Regions from separate parts of the Homo sapiens genome. Here region 2 is linked to region 1. Evidence: promoter capture Hi-C in human tissues and cell types (Jung and others, 2019). All regions are on one chromosome and are shown on one strand. The core of a region is centred on a gene start or on the middle of the fragment in contact, and the rest is flanking DNA. Distances in the headings are between cores, read along the strand shown. Region 1 holds the start of CD52 (CD52 molecule). Region 2 overlaps GPN2 (GPN-loop GTPase 2).

Region 1 (6,642 bases), core at 1,249-3,748:
TATTTTGGCTGTTGCCCCCATGGCACTGCCTGTCAACTTCTACAACCTGGTGATGTCTGGCATCAACCCCTCCCAAAGATGGAGGGGATTCTCTTGCGAGTGATGGTGGCAGCTGTTTCAGGGGGCACAGGGCTAAGGCTGAGACGTGTCACCTCAACTGAAGCAGAAGAGGTGGATTATGGCATTGGCCACGAAGAAAAGGAAAATGCCTCCGCTTATGTTGCTGGATGCTGAGGGGCTGCTGGTTTGGCTGGTGTCGTTTTGTCCTGAGAGTCCAGTTTGTATCTGTAGGAGGAGAAGTGGGATAAGATCAGGGGACTTTTTTTTTTTTTTTTAGAGGTGGAGTCTCACTCTGTCACCCAGGCTGGACTGCAGTGATGCGATCTCGGCTCACTGCATCCTCCACCTCCCGGGTTCAAGTGATTCTCCTGCCTCAGCCTCCTGAGTAGCTGGGACTATAGGCACGTGCCACCACGCCCGGCTAATTTTTCTATTTTTAGTAGAGACGGGGTTTCACCATGTTGGTCAGGCTGGTCTCGAACTCCTGACCTGGTGATCCACCCGCCTCGGCCTCCCAAAGTACTGGGATTACAGGTGTGAGCCATCGTACCCAGCCCTCAGGGGACTTTTGAATAGCGTGTTTGTTATTTAAAGATGCAGTCCCCTTTCTACCCTCCCCGCCCTCCATCCGCCCACCTCCATAAAACAGTCCTCAGTTCTGCCCCATGTGACCACTACTTCTTCCACAAGGTCCTGTCAGGATGTTTGACTGCTTCCTGCTTTGACACAGGCAGGGACAGAGGTGATCACTGCCCCTGTCCACCCCCTTTCACAGAAACTTTCTGTTTTTTTGAGATAGAGTTTCGCTCTTTTGCCCAGGCTGGAGTGAAGTGGCATGATCTCGGGTCACTGCAACCTCCACCCCTCAACCTCCCGAGTAGCTGGGATTATAGGCAGCCGCTATCACGCCCAGCTAATTTTTTTTTTTTTTCCGAGACAGAGTCTTGCTCTGTCGCCCGCCCAGGCTGGAGTGCAGTGGCGTGATCTCGGCTCACTGCAAGCTTCACCCCCAGGTTCACGCCATTCTCCTGCCTCAGCCTCCCGAGTAGCTGGGACTACAGGCGCCCGCCACCACGCCACGCCCGGCTAATTTCTTTTTGTATTTATGGTAGAGACGAGGTTTCAATGTGTTAGCCAGGATGGTCTCGATCTCCTGACCTCATGATCCACCCGCCTCAGCCTCCCAAAGTGCTGGGATTACAGACGCGAGCCAGCGCGCCCGGCTCGCCCAGCTAATTTTTGTATTTTTAGTAGAGACGGGATTTTGTCATGTTGGCCAGGCTGGTCTTGAACTCCTGACCTCAGGTGATCCGCCTGCCTCGGCCTCCCAAAGTGCTGGGATTATAGGCGTGAGCCACCGTGCCCGGTCACAGAACCTTTCTTTTCACCTTTCCCCAGCGACCAGCCCTTCTGGCATAGAGGGAGACAGGGGAGCCCTGGCCCTTGACCTTCCTAGCCTGGCAAAGGGCTTAGCTTCCCTGAGCCTCAGTTTCATCTTCTGAGTGGGGAGAAGTTCATCACAGTTGTGAAGGTCACATGAGCCAGGGCTGAGTGAGAAAGCACTTGGCAAAGCGTGGGTGGCTGGATGTGGGGTGGGGAAGTGGCCAGATGGTGATCGAGCTGTCCTTAATGCTTGATGGAGCTGCAACTAGAACTGTTCTTGATGGAGATTAAGCTGGTTTTGATGGTGATCAAGCTGTTCTTGATCAAGAACTTGATGGCTCCGGTCTGCTGTACTGACTCCCCTCTGGGCACCTGGGATGCTACCAAAGCTGCCTCCTGGAATAGCAGTCGCTTTTGAGACTCCAGTTGTTTCTGAAATGGGAGAGTCCTGTCTTCTTTGCATTCCTGAACATCCAGGCTTCTCTCTGGCAGGGGAGTGGGGGTTAGAGTGTCCCCTGTCACCTCCATAACCACAGCAGGCTCCACTTGGACATCTCCTGGCCTCTCCCCAAAGGACCATCTCCCCAGACTCCCTGTGGGCCGATGCCTTCCTCACTCAGGGTTGTCTTCCCAAGTCTCTTAGTTCTCTATTATTCCACAACACCCCTTGGGTGCCCCAACGCGCCTAGCACCCTGTAAGTGCTCCCCAGCTGTGGATACAGGTTTCTCTCAGGGCAGCCCGCAAGCAGTGCAGCCCCAGCCAGAAGAGCTGGAAGGCTGGGCGGCCAGGCCCGCTGTGTCCCCAGTTTTCCTGTTGGAGTCCATCTGCTGTGCTCTCAGGAGAGAAGGCTGGGTCTCTGGGAGCTCACATCCTGTATGCCCTCCCTCCATGCCAAGCAACTTTGGGGAGTCCTGGCAGTGGTGCCAGGCGTTGCTCTTACCTGTACCATAACCAGGAGGCTGATGGTGAGTAGGAGGAAGAGGAAGCGCTTCATTTTGGTAGGATCTTCGTGGCTGTCTTGGTAGCAGCTTTTTAGGTGATCTCAGGGCTGTCTGGAGGCTTCTTTTGGTTTAGCTGCTTTTGAACCAGGAGGCAGAGGAGGCGGGGTGAGGTAGGGAGAGGAAGGAGGGCTTACAAGGTGGAGGAGGGGTGTGGCTTCCTTTCTGCAGATCTGGGGGTGGATAATACCAGGCTCTAGGTTCTAAGGCCCTGGCTGGGGGAGCAGGCTAGATCGTACAAGATAGGAGAGAGGTCAATCCAGAGGCAACGGTGGGAGTAAGTAGGGCCCAAGGCCTGGAATCATGCATCCTGCAGGCTGAATCCTGGTTTAATCACTGACCAGCTCTGAGACCCTGGGCCAGAAACTCTACCTCTCTGACCCTTTAACAAAAGAACTGCCGGATTACATGTAATAATAACCAATTTAAAAAGAGCCAGAACATAGCAGATATTCCGTAAATGAGTTTGTTGTTTAAAGAAGATTGGGGCAGGGTATAGGAGCTGAAGGAGAAGGGCTGGGATAGATTTATGTTTCAAGGGAAGGTTGTAGATGGGCTGCAGGTTCTGAATGAAAGCTTGGGAAATGTTTAGATTGTGGAAGGGTTGGTGGATTTCTGTGAAGGTGCTGGAGGTGAGGAATCGGGAAGCCTGGTTTCAGTTGGGCTTTCCCTCTCTAGGCCTCAGTTCCTCATTTCAAGGAACTGGGAAGACTGAAATAGATTATTTCTGAAGTTTGTTAAAACCTAGTGTTTTGTTTTGTTGTTGTTGGTTTTTTTGTTTTTTTTTTTAAACAGAGTTTTGCTCTGTGCACTGGCATGATCTCGGCTTACTGCAACCTCCACCTCCTGGGTTCAAGCAATTATCCTGCCTTGGCCTCCCGCATAGCTGGGACTACAGGTGTGTGCCACCATGCCTGGCTAATTTTTTGTATTTTTTTTTTTTTTTTAGCGGAGACTGGGTTTCACCATGTTGGCTAGGCTAGTCTCGAATGCCTGATCTCAAGTGATCCGCCTGCCTCGGCCTCCCAAAGTGCTGGGATTACAGGCATGAGCCACCGCGCCCAGCCAAGACCTAGAATTTTGTGATTTTGGTAGAGAAAGTAGCAAGCAGATGGGTTGTTTGTATTAGCTGAGGATGAATGGGAGGGGAGCGAGGGAAGGGACAAGTGGGTGACTAAGCTACAGTGGAAGGGGACTGGGGTGAGAGAGTGGCTGTGAGGGCCCAGGGAGGGGTGGGGGGATGAGAGGAATCCCACAGCTGCCTGGATAGTGCTCCATGCTTTATGCATTCCCTCACTTGATACCCTCTGTGGTGCCCTGCAGCAGGTGTTATGTTTATCCCCATTTGACTGGTGAAAAAACTGAGGCTTAGATGTTAAGTGACTTGCTAAGGTCGTAAATGGTGGAGCCAGTCTCATTTGACCTTGAATCCAGGTCTGTCTGAAGCCACAGCCATGTATGTAACCTCTGGGGCTGCCCTAGAATTCATCCATTAAGTCTTGATTCCCTGCCACTCCCTCCCCCTCCCCTACACAAACTCCCCCCAGGCCCCAGGAGTTGGTCACCACAACCCCAGCTCTGGCCCACTCTCCCTTCACACTCTCCCTTCCTTAGTCTACTTTAGGCCTCATTTACATGCTAGGTAGTAAAGGGAAAACTCCCCTCACTTCTCTTCTATTGTTTTGGGCCTTGTGTTGCAAGCCCAGGGGAGATCTGGCTGAGGCTGAGTCCAAAGAAAAAAACAGAGGCTGGGCATAGGGGCTACGCCTGTAATCCTAGCAGTTTGGGAGGCTGAGGCGGGCAGATAACTTGAGCACAGGAGTTTGAGACCACCCGGGCAACATAGGAAGGCCCCATCTCTCAAAAAAAAAAAAAAAAAAAAAAAAAATTAGCCGGGCATAGTGGCACAAACCTATAGTCTCAGCTACTTGGGGGCTGACGCAGGAGGATTGCTTGCACCTGGGAGGCCCAGGCTGCAATGAGCCATGATTGTGGCACTGCACTCCAGCCAGGGTGACAGAGCAAGACCCTGTCTCAAAAAAAAAAAAAAAAAGGCCAGGAAACAGTGGCTCACGCCTGTAATCCCAGCATTTTGGGAGGCCGAGGTGGGTGGATCACCTGAGGTCAGGAGTTCTAGACCAGCCTGGCCAACATGGTGAAACCCTGTCTCTACTGAAAATACAGAAATTAGCCAGGTGTGCTGGCACATGCCTGTAATCCCAGCTACTCGGGAGGCTGAGGCAGGAGAATCACTTGAACCCGGGAGAAGGAGGTTGCAGTGAGCCGAGATCGTGCCATTGCACTCCAGCCTGAGCGACAAGAGAAAAACTCCATTTCAAAAAAAGAGAAGAGAAGAAAAGAAGAACTGAGAGTCAAAGCTGATGAGAGAAAGCCAGGAAGTGGAGAGGGAGGGGCGGGGAGGGAGAGAAGAGGGAGGAGTCCCCAGCCATCCATCACCCTCTTTCCCCATCCCTGCCCTTTCACCCAGAGGTCTCTCCTCACCCTTGACTCAAGTTCTCAGCTGTCTTTGGTGTGCCTGTGGGGGTGAGTGATTCTGGGGTTCATGAGAGTCAGGGAGGTGTCCTGTGCCAGAAGGGCACCAGCCCAGAAGACAGGATACCCGTGTTGAAGTCTGAGATTACTCTGCTGAAAATGAGCTCCATCACACTGTGCAATCTTCTCCCCTCTTACAAAGAGGCAGCCAGACAGGACGAGCCTGGGGCCAGCCGTGTTATAGTTTCCCATGCTGGAGATGCATGCGAGGATACTAAATGCCAGACTCTTATTTGTAAACATTTTCTTGCAAACCTCAGAAGCTTCATTTTCACCTCCTGACACCCTGAGGAGTATCTTCTACAGTCCATGTATTTCCTCTGCAAGGAAAGCCCTTCTCCAATTATTTTACCTGGCAAACTCTTTTTTTTTCCCCTCGAGTCAGGTTCTTGCCGTTGTCACCCAGGCTGGAGTACAAGTGGTGCAATCATAGCTCACTGTAACCTCGAACTCCTGGGCTCAAGCAATCCTCCCGCCTCATCCTCCTAAGTACCTGGGACTACAGGTGCATGCCACCATGCCCAGCTAATTTTTGGGGTGGTGGAGGGTGGAGTTTTGCTATGTTGCCCAGACTGCAAACTCTTCTTTATTCTTCAAGATTTAGCTTAGAAGCCCCTTCCCCAGGGAAACTTTCCACTTTCCCTAGGAAACTCAAAGTTCCTAAATGTTCGAAGGGCCCTTTCTGTTGACCTCTGTTCTAAAGATTGTGTCTACCAAGAATATGGTCTGTCCCTTGTGGGTTGGGACTAGATTTTGTCACTTCTCTTACTCAGCGAAGCACAGAACATGGCACAGTGTAGGTGTCAGGGACTGCCGGAAGAATGAGTGCGTGTATTCATCTAGATCTATTCCCACCTCCGAGCCTAGTAGTCCTGCATTTATTCATCCAGTAAATATTTACTATGGGGCAACAGTAAAGTCAGTACTGAAAAGTTACCAATGCAGAAAAGAAATAAGGGACTGAGAGAAGCAAGCCCTTTATATGGAGCTGCTTTCCTCCTAAAAGTATGCCACTTGCAGAGGGGACAGCTGAGAAACTGAGCTGAGCTTTCTCATCTTCACATACTTACAAATGTATGGGAGAAAAACTATAGTTCTAGATTCTCTAAGAAAGGGGAGCCCTGACAAACTCCCCCCACCTAGGCTTTGGGTTGGACCACGGGGAGTGAGAGTAAACAGGAAACAACAGCCCAACCCTCAAAGAAATTGAAGACAACATGACCAAAAAGCAGAAACAGATAATAGAAAGTTATACAAAAGATCCAGATAATGGAATAATCAATCAAATTTTCAAATAACTATGCTTACTTAAAGACATTTTCCTCTTCTGCCCTCTGAGCAGCAGGACAAGATTGAGAACTAGAAATTATAGTAAAGAACCGGCCGGGCGCGGTGGCTAACACCTGTAATCCCAGAACTTTGAGAGGCCGAGGCGAGTCGATCACAAGGTCAGGAGATCGAGACCATCCTGGCTAACAAAGTGAAACCCCATCTCTACTAAAAATACAAAAACTTAGCCAGGCATGGTGGCGGGCACCTGTAGTCCCAGCTACTCGGGAGGCTGAGGTAGGAGAATGGCATGAACCTGGAAGGCAGAGCTTGTGGTGAGCCGAGATCGTGCCACTGCACTCCAGCCTGGGCGATGGA
Region 2 (6,642 bases), core at 1,254-3,753, 570 kb before region 1:
TTTTCTTAGTAACTTCATTTTACTGTGTCAAGAAATATTTGAGTGCATGAGTGCACAAAGGAAAAAAGGAAAAAGGAACCTCGTCCTCAGGTCTTTAGCCTGATACTGGTTGCTCCTGAACACTGGTTTCTCTCTTTAGCCTTCAACCTGGACTACTACACAGAGGTTCTGGACCTCTCCTACCTGCTTGACCACCTGGCTTCTGACCCTTTCTTCCGCCACTACCGCCAGCTCAATGAGAAGCTAGTGCAGCTCATCGAAGACTATAGCCTTGTCTCCTTTATCCCTCTCAACATCCAGGTACTAGGGGCTAAGACGGGACTCTTGACAGTGCATGGGATTCACCAAGCCAAAAGCACAGGAAGCTTTGAGGGCTTAAAGAATGGTCTTTGCCGGCTGGGCGCGGTTGCTCAAGCCTCTAATCCTAGCACTTTGGGAGGCCGAGGTGGGCAGATCATGAGGTCAGGAGATCGAGACCATCCTGGCTAACCCAGTGAAACCCCGTCTCTACTAAAAATACAAAAAATTAGCTGGGCGTGGTAGCAGGTGCCTGTAGTCCCAGCTACTCAGGAGGCTGAGGCAGGAGAATGGCGTGAACCCGTGAGGCAGAGCTTGCAGTGAGCCGAGACCACGCCATTGCTCTCCAGCCTGGGCGACAGAGTGAGACTCCATCTCAAAAAAAAAAAAAAAAAAAGAGTGGTCTTTGCCCTGGGTTGAGTATCACTGAGAGTAACCTTAGTTTCAGGACCAGGGGCTGCTGTAGGGGCAGAATTCCAGTAAAGAGAGTGGACCAAACTTTTGCCCTGTCTATTTTGTGTTGCTGGATCCTCTCTTCACATGTTCTGTCCTCTGTGAAAATGGGTGAGTTCAGAAAGTCATCAGCAAGAAAGTTCACCAGGACCAGGGACAAGTCTCTTAAGCCCTTTCAACTGGGCAACTGTCTGTTGACTTTGCAAAGTGGTACCCAACCCCTGTGCCTCTCACCTTTACCCTGCAGAGATAACCTGGGAGACGCAGGTGCATGTTAGATTCCTTTCTGCAGTGGGTGGACTTGAGCTAACTTGTCTCCTCCCTTCTAATGCCACACTCTTCTGATATGAGGAGATGAACTCTATAATATCAATCACAACAATTACCTCTTATTTATGGCTTTCTGTGCTGGGCACTGTGCTAAGGACTACACATACATAATTTTGCTTTGTCCTTCCCACCATGTGATATATGGACTGTTCTTATCACTGTATGTGGATGAGGAAACAGTTATAGTTTTTTTTTGTTTTGTTTTGTTTTTTGTGACGGAGTCTCACTCTGTCACCCAGGCTGGAGTGCAGTGCGTTATCTTGGCTCACTGCAACCTCTGCCTCCTGGGTTCAACCGATTCTCCTGCCTCAGCTTCCCAAGTAACTGGGATTACAGGCATCCATCACCATGCCCAACTAATTTTTGTATTTTCAGTAGAGACAGGGTTTCACCATGTTGGCCAGGCTGCTCTTGAACTCCTGACCTTAAGTGATCTACCTGCCTTGGCCTCCCAAAGTGCTGGGCTTTACAGGTGTGAACCACCGTGCCTGGCCCAGTTATAGATTTAAAACATGCATATTCATTGGATGTCTACTTAAGAGAAGTACTGTGCCAGGCACTGGGAATACTGCGACAGATGACCTGGCCCTAAGGGGTGTTTAGTTGAGTAGGGGAGGCAGGTGAGTTAATAGGCGTTTATTACATGGCAGGGATACCATGTACAATAGGTGTAAACCCAGGGGACTGTGGATATGCATAGGGGAGCTTATCTGTTCTAATCTGAGTGAGTTGGTGGTCAGGAAACATGAGATTTATCCAGCCTTTGGGGACATGTAGAACTACTCCAGGCCAAGAAAGCTACAGGTACAGAGGCAAGATGGAGGAAGGTGTATTTAGAGATTGCAAGCAGTTTTACATACTTCTGTTTCACTCACAGAACTGTTTCTCTCCTCCCTGCTCAGGACAAGGAGAGCATCCAGCGAGTCCTGCAGGCTGTGGATAAAGCCAATGGATACTGTTTCAGAGCCCAAGAGCAGCGAAGCTTGGAAGCCATGATGTCTGCCGCAATGGGAGCCGACTTCCATTTCTCTTCGTATCCTTGCCAGCTTCCTGGCCATAGCAGAGAGGGTGAGACATGGGACTCAAGAATGGCCACAGGAGGTGCAGTCATCAACCTTGTGGATGACCAATTTCTTTTTTTTTTTTTTTTTTTGAGATGGAGTCTTGCTCTGTCGCCCAGGCTGGAGTGCAGTGGCACGATCTCAGCTCACTGCAAGCTCTGCCTCCCGGGTTCACGCCACTCTCCTGCCCCAGCCTCCTGAGTAGCTGGGACTACAGCCACCCACCACCACGCCCAGCTAATTTTTTGTATTTTTAGTAGAGACGGGGTTTCACTGTGTTGGCCAGGATGGTCTTGATCTCCTGACCTTGTGATCCACCCAATTTCTTTTTTCTTTTTTTTTTTTGAAAGGGAGTTTCGCTCTTGTTGCCCAGGCTGGATCGCACAATGGCGCAATCTTGGCTCTGTGTAACCTCTGCCTCCCATATTCAAGCAATTCTCCTGCCTCAGCCTCCCAAGTAGCTGGTATTAGTGTGCGCCACTGTGCCCAGTTAGTTTTTATATTTTTAGTAGAGACGGGGTTTCACCATGTTGGCCAGGCTGGTCTGGAACTCTTGACCTCAGGTGATCCACCTGCCTCAGCCTCCCAAAGTGCTGGGATTACAGGCATGAGCCACTGCGCCCGGCCGTGGATGACTGATTTCATATTGATCAGTTGGGCTTCCTGATGACTGTCTCTCATGTGCAAAGGTGGTCCCTTGGCTTCAGAGTTGGTTGTACTGAGGACAAGAGAGGATATTGATCAATAGGAGTAACAAATACAGAGGCCCAGAAATGAGAGGGCATTAGTCATTCGGGAGAGATGCAGGAGTCCAGTTCCTGGTGTGTTGCATGTGAAGAGGAAAGGGCGTTGCAGGGGTACAGGCAGGGCTGCCGAGGGAGGGGCCTGAGTGCCCTACTAAGGAATGTGGACTTCAGTTCATGGGTGGGCAGTGGGAGCAAGTATTCAAGCAGTACTGTTGAACAGGGTGTGACACAATCAGATGTACATTTTAGAAAAGCCCCTGCAATTGTGGAAAATGCATTTAAGGGACGTGATTGGGGGCAAAAGAGTTTTACAGTCTTGCTAGGTGAGAAGGGTTGAAAGATTTGTAGTGAGAATAGAAAGAAAGGTGTAGAATGGAAAAATACTAAGGAGATAGACTGTAAGAGTCAGTGACTGAATGGGATAGATGGAGCTGGAGTAGAACTTAGCTTCCCAGATCTCTGGCTTAGACGGTGGGTGGTTGTACTAATCACTGAGGCAGGAAAAGGAGGAGGGAGCAGGTTTGTCACATGGATGAAAGGGACAAGAGCTGGCAGATGTGCTGTGTTCAGGGGTCCATGGGACATCCAGAGCTGTCCAAGAGGCAGCCAGACTTTTGGAGCTTGGTTAGTGACTAATGAGGCTGGAGCCAAGGTCATGGGTAGGTGTCCATCAGGTCACAGAGGCCATGCGTGAAGCAGGACAGAAAAGTCCAGGCCCTCTAGGCTGATGCTCTCACAGATTCAGCATCTATGCAGCATGCTGGAGACAAGGGGGACTCAGGAGTCTTAGGGTATAGAGGAAAATAATTCCAGCCAACACTTACTGATGTTTCTCGAGCCATATGTGGGAAACAAAGCTCATGGGGTCGGGGTTGGAGGAATGACTTATAAATGATGGCAGTAGAGTGTGCAGTCCCTGATGAAGGTACTAAGGAGCTGCGTCACACCTGCAGTTAATGTAGGCCAATTGGACTGCATGTGCTCAGCAAAAGAGGGGAGGAGCAATTTTTTTTTTAAATTTAAGATGGACTTTCTTTTGCTGTTGTTGCCCAGGCTGGAATGCAATCTCCAACTCCAGGGTTCAAGTGATTCTCCTCCCTCAGCCTCCTAAGTAGCTGGGATTACAGGCATGCTCCACCACACCTGGCCCTTTTTTTTTTTTTTTTTTGAGACGGACCGTCAATCTTGTTGCCCCAGTTGGAGTGCAATGGTGCAATCTCAGCTCACTGCAACCTCCATCTCCCACGTTCAAGCAATTCTCCTGCCTCAGCCTCCCGAGTAAGTGGGATAATAGGCGCCCGCCACCACGCTCAGCTAATTTTTTGTATTTTTAGTAGAGACAGCGTTTTACCATGTTGGCCAGGCTGGTTTCGAACTCCTGAACTCAGGTGATCCACCTGCCTTGGCCTCCCAAAGTGCTGGGATTATAGGCGTGAGCCACCATGCCCGGCCTGCAACTTTTATATTTATTTCTTAGAGGCAGGGTCTTGCTCCTTTGCCCAGGCTGGAGTGCAGTGATGCAATCATAGCTCACTGCGACCTTGAACTCCTGGGCTCGTTACCCTCCCACCTCAGCCTCCCAAAGTGCTGGGATCACAGGCATGAGCCATCGTCCCCAGCTGGGAAGGGCAGTTTATGTTTGTTTATTTTGTGAGGCAGAGTCTCACTCTGTTGCCCAGGCTGGAGTGCAGTGGCGTGATCTCAGCTCACTGCAGCCTTGACCTCCCTGGGCTCAAGTGATCCTCCCACTTCAGCCTCCTGAATAGCTAGGACTATGGGCGTGTGCCACTGTGGCCAGCTAATTTTTGTAGAGATGGGGTTTCACCATACAGCCTAGGCTGGGAGAAGCAATTTAAATAATGTAGTATTTTGTACACCGTACAGATGGTTCCCAACTTATGATGGCTCAACTTTATGATGGTGTGAAAGCTATATGCATTCAGTAGAAATCATACTTTGGGTACCTATCAATCATTCTTTCACTTTCAGTACAGTATTCAATAAATTACATGAGATATTCAATACTTTATTGTAAAATAGGCTTTGTGTTAGATAATTTTGCCCAAATGCAGCTAACGTAAGTGTTCTAAGAATATTTAAGGTAGGCGAAACTAAGCTATGATGTGTGGTAGGTTATGTGTATTAAATGCATTTTCGACTTAAGATATTTTTGATTTAGGATGGGTTTATCAGGATGTAACCCCATCATAAGTCAAGGAGCATCTGTACGTTACTTTATGTATTCGTATATATAAAGGATTCTATTCACAAAACCATGTATGCTGCATTTAACAAATAATTTGAGGAATTTTAAAGAGTATTTTTAACCATATACATTTGTGCTGATTTTAGATTCTGCCCTGACCCTAACCCCCTTAAGATTCAGCAGCTCTCTGTAAGAGAGTAGGGACTGATACAAATAAGGGAGTGGTCAGCTTTGCTGAAGGGTAGGTGGGTAAGGAAAGCTTTATGGAGGCATGACACGTGAGTTGTGTCATTTCAAGGTGAGGGTTAGCCAGTCTAATGAAGAAGAAAAGGGAATTCAAGTTAAGAGAACATGCAAAGGCATAGGGGTTCAAAGTTGAGACAGGTTTCAAGGGTTGCAAATAAGATGGCATGGGCCAAGTGTAATGGCTTCATGCCTGTAATTCCAACACTTTGGGAGTTAAAGGTGGGAGGATTGCTCAAGGCCAGGAGTTTGAGACCAGACTGGGTAACATAGTGAGACCCCATCTCTCTCTCTTTTTTTTTTTTAAAGTATAAAAATTTATTTTTGGCCAGGCGTGGTGGCTTACGCCTGTAATCCCAGCACTTTGGGAGGCCAAGGCGGGCGGATCACGAGGTCAGGAGATCGAGACCATTTCTGTCAACATGGTGAAACCCTGTCTCTACTAAAAATAGAAAAATTAGCTGGGTGTGCTGGCATGTACCTGTAGTCCCAGCTACTCTGGAGGCTGAGGCAGGAGAATTGCTTGAACCAGGGAGTTGGAGGTTGCGGTGAGCCGAGATCGCGCCACTGCACTCCAGCTTGGTGACAGAGTGAGACTCTGTCTCAAAAAAAAGAAAAAGAAAGGTCTGTAACTCGAACATCATTTGGTGGGCTAAGTGCTTTACTTGCAGGGTCATTTAATCCTCATTTCAACCCCTTTTATAATTGAGGCGACAGGCCCAAGGTCCCTCTCCCGGGATGTTTTGGAAGAACAGTTCAAACCTTGGTTTTGGTGGGTGTAGAATCTGTTTCTTACTTTGGAGCCATCTGGTAGTACAACAGCCATGGTGTCCTAACATAGCCAACCTAGCCATGGCTAACCTCCATGTCCTCGTCAGACCCCAGACCCAGACATCATCAGGTTTTGAACTCCCTTAGTCTGGCTCCAGAGCATGTGCCATAACGCAAAATTGCAAGGTTAGTACTGTCCAGTCCTTTGATCCGCAGCAGTGTGTGGAAGAGGCAGATAGAGGAGCATTTGAGTCTGGGTGTTTTTGGAGGCTTCTCATACCTGATTGGTCCCTATAATTATGAGGAAGAGAGGGATGGACATGGTTGGAGTGTAGGCATCAGCGGAAGTCAGATCCTGCCCAGACCAGCTCCCCATCCTCTGCCTATGCTATCAGCCTTGACGCACCCTTCCTCAGCACACTGGGCATCCAGGAGAAGTACCTGGCACCCTCGAACCAGTCAGTGGAGCAGGAAGCCATGCAGCTGTAGCAACAAGGTGGACCCTGGAGAGCAGGATGCATAATCCAGCACTGGG

Evidence for each region. The method cuts DNA at HindIII sites, captures the fragments that hold promoters and counts their contacts. A contact is called where the count stands out against the background at its distance.
Region 2: a fragment that was not itself captured here is called in contact with the fragment with the promoter of CD52 in region 1 in 1 of the 25 tissues and cell types used here (lymphoblastoid cells).

Annotation. Positions count from the first base shown.
Region 1 is chr1:26,313,814-26,320,455 of GRCh38, reverse strand. CD52 (CD52 molecule) reads right to left here and starts at 2,498. Exons shown (of 2, transcript NM_001803.3): 1 at 2,385-2,498; 2 at 1-285. The coding sequence starts at 2,438. The coding sequence ends at 154. It also overlaps a transcript of UBXN11 not described here. RefSeq lists enhancers at 1,492-1,591, 733-1,718, 2,092-2,241, 2,372-2,441 and a silencer at 2,516-2,708. The HindIII fragment of the contact is 5,127 bases long and covers 1-4,138 here.
Region 2 is chr1:26,879,631-26,886,272 of GRCh38, reverse strand. GPN2 (GPN-loop GTPase 2) reads left to right here. Exons shown (of 5, transcript NM_018066.4): 3 at 140-300; 4 at 1,983-2,113; 5 at 6,524-6,642. The coding sequence ends at 6,596. Among named protein-coding and RNA genes, the nearest start is that of GPN2-AS1, 6.8 kb to the right of the region's middle. The HindIII fragment of the contact is 7,583 bases long and covers 1-6,294 here.